Regions from separate parts of the Homo sapiens genome. Here region 2 is linked to region 1. Evidence: promoter capture Hi-C in human tissues and cell types (Jung and others, 2019). All regions are on one chromosome and are shown on one strand. Each heading gives the region's core, a stretch centred on a gene start or on the middle of the fragment in contact. The rest is flanking DNA. Distances are from core to core; before and after follow the strand shown.

Evidence for each region. The method cuts DNA at HindIII sites, captures the fragments that hold promoters and counts their contacts. A contact is called where the count stands out against the background at its distance.
Region 2: a fragment that was not itself captured here is called in contact with the fragment with the promoter of UVRAG in region 1 in 1 of the 25 tissues and cell types used here (dorsolateral prefrontal cortex).

The regions. Positions count from the first base shown.
Region 1 is chr11:75,813,165-75,816,771 of GRCh38, reverse strand. It overlaps UVRAG (UV radiation resistance associated), which reads right to left and starts at 1,562. Exons shown (of 15, transcript NM_003369.4): 1 at 1,248-1,562. The coding sequence starts at 1,364. It overlaps UVRAG-DT (UVRAG divergent transcript), which reads left to right and starts at 1,975. Exons shown (of 2, transcript NR_144531.1): 1 at 1,975-2,309; 2 at 2,911-3,258. RefSeq lists a silencer at 1,239-1,438 and enhancers at 1,734-2,028, 1,899-2,328, 2,252-3,451. The HindIII fragment of the contact is 17,046 bases long and covers 1-3,607 here.
Region 2 is chr11:76,331,170-76,334,776 of GRCh38, reverse strand. No RefSeq gene overlaps it. Among named protein-coding and RNA genes, the nearest start is that of THAP12, 48 kb to the left of the region's middle. The HindIII fragment of the contact is 9,513 bases long and covers 1-3,607 here.

The sequences.
Region 1 (3,607 bases), core at 313-2,812:
CACTGGTAGCTGATGGAAAGTTGGAGGGGTGTATGAAAGAACTCACTCTGTCCTGTGTAAAGGTGGTGGAGGAAGGCTGCCCAAGTCTCAAGCACGTGCATGGCTGCAGAGTCAGACACTGGATTCTGCAACCCAGCCCCACCACTTACTAACTGGAAGGCTCTGGACAAGCCTCAGTTTCCTCAACTGCCAAATGGGGGTAATAAAAACAGCTATCTCACAGAGTTGTGAAAATTCAGTGAACTAATGGCCACTGAGCCCTTTGCACAAATCCAACACGGTAAGTTCTCAGTAAATGACAGTTTCTCTAGATCCTCTTCTTGGCAGGAGGAATAAAGGGAGAGGGTGAAAGGTATTCTTTAGGTCTCTTTAATGCTAAGATTCCTGCAAAATCTCCCCTTGGGGGACAGAAGGAAGGCAACCGATATAAGGAGGGAAGTACTCTACAGATATGTGAGTGAAACAAAGAGTTTTGTCACATCTCCAAAGTCAGTGTTTCCCCCTTCTTATCTTCCTACAACGCAGAGCCAAGAAGTCCTCAAAGCCCTTCCTAAAGGATGGAGGAACACATGAATATATACATCAAATCCTCCTTCCACAGAGACTCACTGAAGGGAATGAAGAAGGAAAAAGTCCTCCTAATTATTAAGATGCGTTCCTTGGGACTCGGAGAATTAGGAAGGAAACCCCCAAGTCTTGAATACATTTCTCTAAAGAGGCCGAATACTTAATAATCAGGGGAGATTAAAGCAAATGGTAGACACCCTAAAGTCTCCTCCAGGGCTCTTGCACGAAGAGTACAAACTGGTTTCTCCGTAAGCGGGGATGGCCAGGTGGGGAAAGAAAGGAAAAGTGCTTTCACTATGGCCCGTGGGACACAGGGGGTTCCCCGGGTCCCTTCCTGGGCGGAACGAGGGAGAGGGTCTGCGCGGGGCAATCCCCGGCTCCCTGCGTTGGGGGAGGCGGCCTCGGGCCGGGGCCCCAGGGACTTGAGCTGGCTGGCTGCTTGTCCCTTAACAAGCCCATCTCCTGTAACGGGATTCTCCTAGGACTCCGGGATCTCCCGGAGGTTCGGCCATCACTGGACCCCTCCCCGCACAAACCTCCTGACAGTCTTCCTCAGTCCCGCGAGCCCTCCGGGTCCCTGCTCTGGGTGTCCCGGCTCGCGGGGTCAGCCCGGAGCCAGCAAGCTCTCCACGCGGGCCTGCCCGGGTCCCTCCCGAGTGCTGCGAGCCGCGCGGGCTTACCTGCTGAGACGGCAGCTCCACATGCAGGGCCCGCGCGGCAGAACCGGGAGGCAGAGCAGCGGCCGGGCCCGGGGGTGGCTGGGGGACGGGGCCCCCGACCGACGCGGAGGCGCTCATCTCGATCCAGGGGCCGCCAAGCGGCGGGGCGGGCACTCTTCCGGCATCCGCCGCCGCCCCCTTGCCACCACCTACCAAGCCCCTGCAGCCTAGAAACCCGCCACCCGAGAGGCACTACTGCTCAGCCCAGACAGTAGCCGCCGCCGCTGCCGCCGCTGCCGCCGTTGCCGCCGCTGGCTAAGGAAGAGCCATATTACCGCAGTGCAACCCCTCCACCCCGCTGAGACCCGGAGCGCTCATTGGCTTAGCCCTCAAGGGGGCGGGACCCAACGGCAGAAAAGGGGCGTGCTATTGGGTAGAAGGTCTGTCCATCGCTGGCATTACTGGACTTGGGGGCGGAGGGACTCAAGGATGGCCTCAATTGCGTCTGTCAAGCCGGGGTGAAACCTGGGGCGTTGCTTCTTTTTTTCCCAGTCTAATTGGTTCTTTTACTACCAACGGGCAGAGTCTCCTGGTGGAGGCGGAAGGGCCATTGCAAGAGGTCGCTGTCAATTGTCAGTAAAGGGAAAGAGGGGTGGGGTCTTGATTAGGTAGAGCGCGCTTCTGGGCTCCGGTGTCACGTGCAGGAGGCGGGAGAGTCACCTGATTAGGGAGAACCGGTCTTCTGAGCCACTTCCGCCCTCACTGGTTGCCGTGGTAACAGGCCTCCGGTGGAGGGCGGGGACCCTCGGAAGCCAGCTGGGTGGCGATCGCTTGTCTGCCTTGGCAGGCCCCTTGTGCAGTCTTTTCCCGGCGTGAGCGTGCAGGGATTGAAAAGGAATGCTTTATGGTTCAGCAGAGAGCCACCACGCAGGATGCACTGGGACCTGAGAACCGTCGGGCAGTCCCACGAGCTCTTTCATGACCAGCTCCAACCGACAAGTACACGCCCCTTCGCACTCCACTAGCTAGTAAGCTGAGCTACAAGGTGTGCCAGGCACCCAGGACGCCGATTCACCGCTTCAGGTGGGCTGTTTGTGCTGTGTCCCCAGAAAGCCTTTGCTACTTATCCATCAGTCTTAGCTGGGGCAGGAGTCCCTTCTTCCAAAAGGCTTCTCTGAGCCTCTCTGGGACCTTGAGTTAGGAATTTTGACCCTACCGTGGGTCTGGATTATTCTATTAATTTTTTTTAACAGTGCCTCATTCTTTCGCCCGGGCTGGAGTGCAGTGGCAAAATCACGGCTCATTGCAGCCTCGACCTCCTGGGCTCAAGTGATCCTCCCACCTCACCCTCCTAAGTAGCTGGGAATACAGGCACATGCCACCAGGCCCAGCTAATTTTAAAATTTTTTTGTAAAGATGGGGTTCTGGCCATATTTCCCAGACTAGTCTCAAACTCCCAGGCTCAAGCGATCCTCCAGTCTCGGGCTCCCAAAGTGTTGGGATTACAGGCATGAGCCACCAGGCCTGGCCACATTGTCTTTTAACACATGTAAGCAGCCACCCTCCTTCCCACACACACACAAAATACTGTGAATTCTTCAAGCAAAAGGACTTTGTCTGATTCATCTCTGGATCCCCAGTGCCTGACAGAGAATCAGGAAATTTTTTTTTTTTTTTTTTGCAGTGAAGGCCCAGCTCAAATGCCACCTCTTCCATGAAGACTTCCGTGATCCACAATGATAGCATCTCCAGCAATTGCTTCTATAATGAATAGCATGAGTCATTCTGCAGGATGTTGATCTTCCTTTTTTTACTCCTAGACTGAATTTTTCCACCACCTGGATGAACATAGCAGAAAGAACATAGTGTTTTAGAGTCAGACACAATAGGAATCAGGCACTTTGGAATCTTGGCTCTACCACCTTTGAGCTATGTATCCCAAGGCAAGTCACTTCCCCTCTCTCAGCTTTAAAATAGTAATAGGATTGCTGTAGGGATTAAAGTAAATCAACATATGTAAAGTGCCCACACAGGACCTGGCATATAGTAGTTGCATTTTAAATTTTTTAAACAAAATGTAAGCATACTATCTTTCCAGGGTGTTCAGAAGCCTGAAAAACACCTTGGATCTTTTCTCAGAGCTGGATCACAAAGATGTCACACTGTCTCCTGTTCTGACACACTGAGTGGTTCCTCATGGCTGGAGCCTGGGGCGTGTGGTCAGGTGTTTGTTGAGAAAGGAGTCGCTTGATCAGGTGTTTGTTGAGAAAGGAGTCACTGGGAAATCCCAAATATTATCTGATTGAACTCATGTGGTGCCAAGATCTGGGGGAATTTCACAGAAAACACATTTCTGTTTCTAAGCTGTATTAGTTTTCTGA
Region 2 (3,607 bases), core at 434-2,933, 520 kb before region 1:
CACATGGCCAGGCTGCAAATTGTCCACATCTTTGTGCTTTGCTTCCCTTTTAAATATAAGTTCCAATTTCAAGTCATTTCTTTGTTTATGCAGGTGAGTGTAGGCTTTTAGAAGCAGTGAGGCCACATCATGAATGCTTTGCTGCTTAGAAATTTCTTCCACCAGATACCCCAGATCATCTCTCTCAAGTTCAAAGTTCAAGAAATCCCTAGAGCACAGGGGCATAATGCTGCCAGTCTCTTTGCTAAAGCATAGCAAGAGTGACGTTTACACCAGTTCCCAATAAGTTTCTCATCTCCATCTGAGACCTCTTTAGCCTGGACTTCATTGTCCATATCACTATCAGCATTTTGTTCACAACCACCACCCCCGTGATTCAATCACCTCCCACTAGGCCCCTCCTCCAGCACTGGGGATTACAATTCAGCATGAGATTTGGGTGGGGACACAGAGCCAAACCACATCAGATGGACTGGAAAAATGGTCCCAGCAGCAAGCGTAGAGAGCACCAGGCCTCAGATGGGTTCACCAGACCCAGCAGCATGTTAAAGGCCACCCCACCCCAAACCTATGCAGCAAAGACACTTGAACATCACTTAACCCTGCATGTACCAAACTTATTTCACCAAAAATCCTTTTGTGTCATGGAACGTCTTTATTTGAGGGAGTGGGGAATTGACTGGTTGTTTGTTTGAGACAGAGCCTTACCCTGTTGCCTAGGCTGGAGTGCAGTAGCACGATCTCGGCTCACTGCAACCTTTACCTCCCAGGTTCAGCCAATTCCCCTGCCTCAGCCTCCCGAGTAGCGTGCCGCCACACCTGGCTAATTTTTGTATTTTTAGTAGAGACGGGATTTGGCCATGTTGGCCAGGCTGGTCTTGAACTCCTGACCTCAGGTGATCTGCCCGCCTCGGCTTCCCAAAGTGCTGGGATTACAGGTGTGAGCCACCGTGCCCAGCTGATTGACTGTTTTTTGAAAAAGCTACCATGGGCTTATGGTATTAATATATTCCAAACAGTGCACTAGGGTGCACTTTGAAGCGTTTTCCTCCCACCCTTGGCTCCTTCAGTCTCCAGTTTCCTTCTCCAAAGGTGGTCATTTGTCTCCCTTCTGTATCCTCCCAAGTTCCAGGCTACACAAGGATGTATGGGTGTGTTTTCTTTTCAAAATGCAGGTGGAGGCAGCTGATAAACACATCTCTACTGCAGGTATTTTAAGGGCTTAGGTGCAAGGCAGTGTTCAGCAATGGTGTCATGGGGACACCTCCTTTGGCTGGACCTGAGGAATGAGGAGGAACTATCCAGGGGTCCTAAGGATATATCATAGTGCATTTAGCCATTCTTCCAGTGAGGGGCATTGAGATAGTTTCTAGTCTTCTGTTAATCTAAACCAGGGTTGGCAATCTATGGATTCCTGACCAGATCCAGCTCAGCTCTTGTTTTTTATGTACCTTAAGCTATGAATTTTTTATGTTTATAAATGGGTTTTTTTGTTTGTTTGTTTATTTGTTTGAGACAATTTGGCTCTGTTGCCCAGGCTGGAATACGGTGGCACAATCTCAGCTCACTGCAACCTCCACTTCCCAGGTTCAAGTGATTATCATGCCTCAGCCTCCCGAGTAGCTGGGACTACAGGCATGTGCCACCAAACCCAGTTAAGTTTTGTATTTTTGGTATAGACGGGGTTCCACCATGTTGGCCAGGCTGGTCTCAAACTGCTGGCCTCAAGTGATCCTCCTGCCTCAGCATCCCAAAGTGCTGGGATTATAGGCATGAGCCACCACAAGCAGCCTGTAAATGATTTTGAAAAAATAATATTTTGTGACACATGAAAAGTATACAAAATTTAAGTTTCAACATTTGTAAATAAGATTTTATTGGAACACAGGCATACCCATCCGTTTACGTTTGTTTATGACTGCGTTTGAGCTGCAGCAGCATTGTGGATTAGCTACAATGAGACCATATAGTCTGGGTATGGTGGCTCAACGCCTGTAATTCCAGCACTTTGGGAGGCTGAGGCAGGTAGATCACTTGAGCCCAGGAGTTCAAGAGACTGTATAGTCCTCAAGCCTAAAATAGTTACTGTCTATCCTTTACAGAAAAAGGTTGCTGACCTCTGCTTTAAACAATGCTGCAACAAATATCTTTCCCCATTACTGCAAACATGTAAGTAGATCTCTCATAAATAGCCCATTTGGTCTAAGCCAATCTGAGAGACATAGCTCAAAAAGCACATTTCACCGATTTTAGTTAATTTTTCTTTTATTATAAGTGAAGTTAACTAAGCATCTTTTTAAACACATAAAAGTGTTGGGCCATGTGTGGTGGCTCACACTTGTAATCCCAGCAATTTAGGAGGCTGAGACAGGAGGATAATTTGAGCCCAGGAGTTCAAGACCAGCTGGGTAACATGGTGAGACTGCTATCTCTACTAAAACTACTACCCAGGCGGGGTGTGGTGGCTCACGCCTGTAATCCCAGCATTCTGGGAGGCGGAGGCAGGAGGATCACTTGAGGTCAGGAGTTCAAGACCAGCCTGGCCAACATGGCAAAACTCCGTCCCTACTAAAAATACAAAAATTAGCCAGATGTAGTGGCGGGCACCTGTAATCCCAGCAACTCAGGAGGCTGAGGCAGGAGAATCGCTTGAACCCAGGAGGTGGAGGTTTCAGTGAGCCGAGATTGTGTCACTGCACTCTAGCCTGAGTGACAAGAGCGAAACTCCATCTCAAAAATAAAATAAAATAAAATAAAATAACTACCCGGTGTGGTAGCACATGCCTGTAGTCCCAGCTACTAGGGAGGCTGAGGCAGGAGGATTGCTTGAATCTGGAAAGTCAAAGCTTCAATTAGTCATGATTGTTCCACTGCACTCCAGCCTGGGTGACAAAGTGAGACCCTGTCTCAAAAAAAAAATTATATACATATATTTATATGTGTGTGTATATATATATATCATGTGTGTGTTTCCTCTTTTCTGTAAAATGTTTTTTTCAATTTGATAAAGAATATGGGCCAGGTGTGGCGGCTCACGCCTGTAAACCCAGCACTTTGGGAGGCCACGGTGGGTGGATCACTTGAGCCCAGAAGTTCGAGATAAGCCTGGGCAACATAGCGAGATCCTATCTCTACAAAAAGTTTAAAAATTAGCCAGGCATGGCTGGGTGCGGTGGCTCACACCTGTAATCTCAGCACTTTGGGAGGCTGAGGTGGGTGGATCACAAGGCCAGGAGATCGAGACCATCCTGGCTAACACGGTGAAACCCCGTCTCTGCTAAAAATACAAAAAATTAGCGGGGCATGGTGGCGGGAGCCTGTAGTCCCAGCTACTTGGGAGGCTGAGGCAGGAGAATGGTGTGAACCCAGGAGGCGGAGCTTGCAGTGAGCCGAGATCGCAACACTGCACTCCAGCCTGGGCGACAGACTCTGTCTCAAAAAAAAAAAAAAAAAAAAATTAGCCAGGTGTGGTGGTGCGTGCCTGTAGTCCTGGCTACTCAGGAGGCTGAGGTGGGAGGATCACCTGAGCCTGGAAGGTTGAAGCTGCAATGAACTGTGATCATGCCACTGCACTCCAGCCTGAGCAACAGAGTGAGACCCTGTCTCC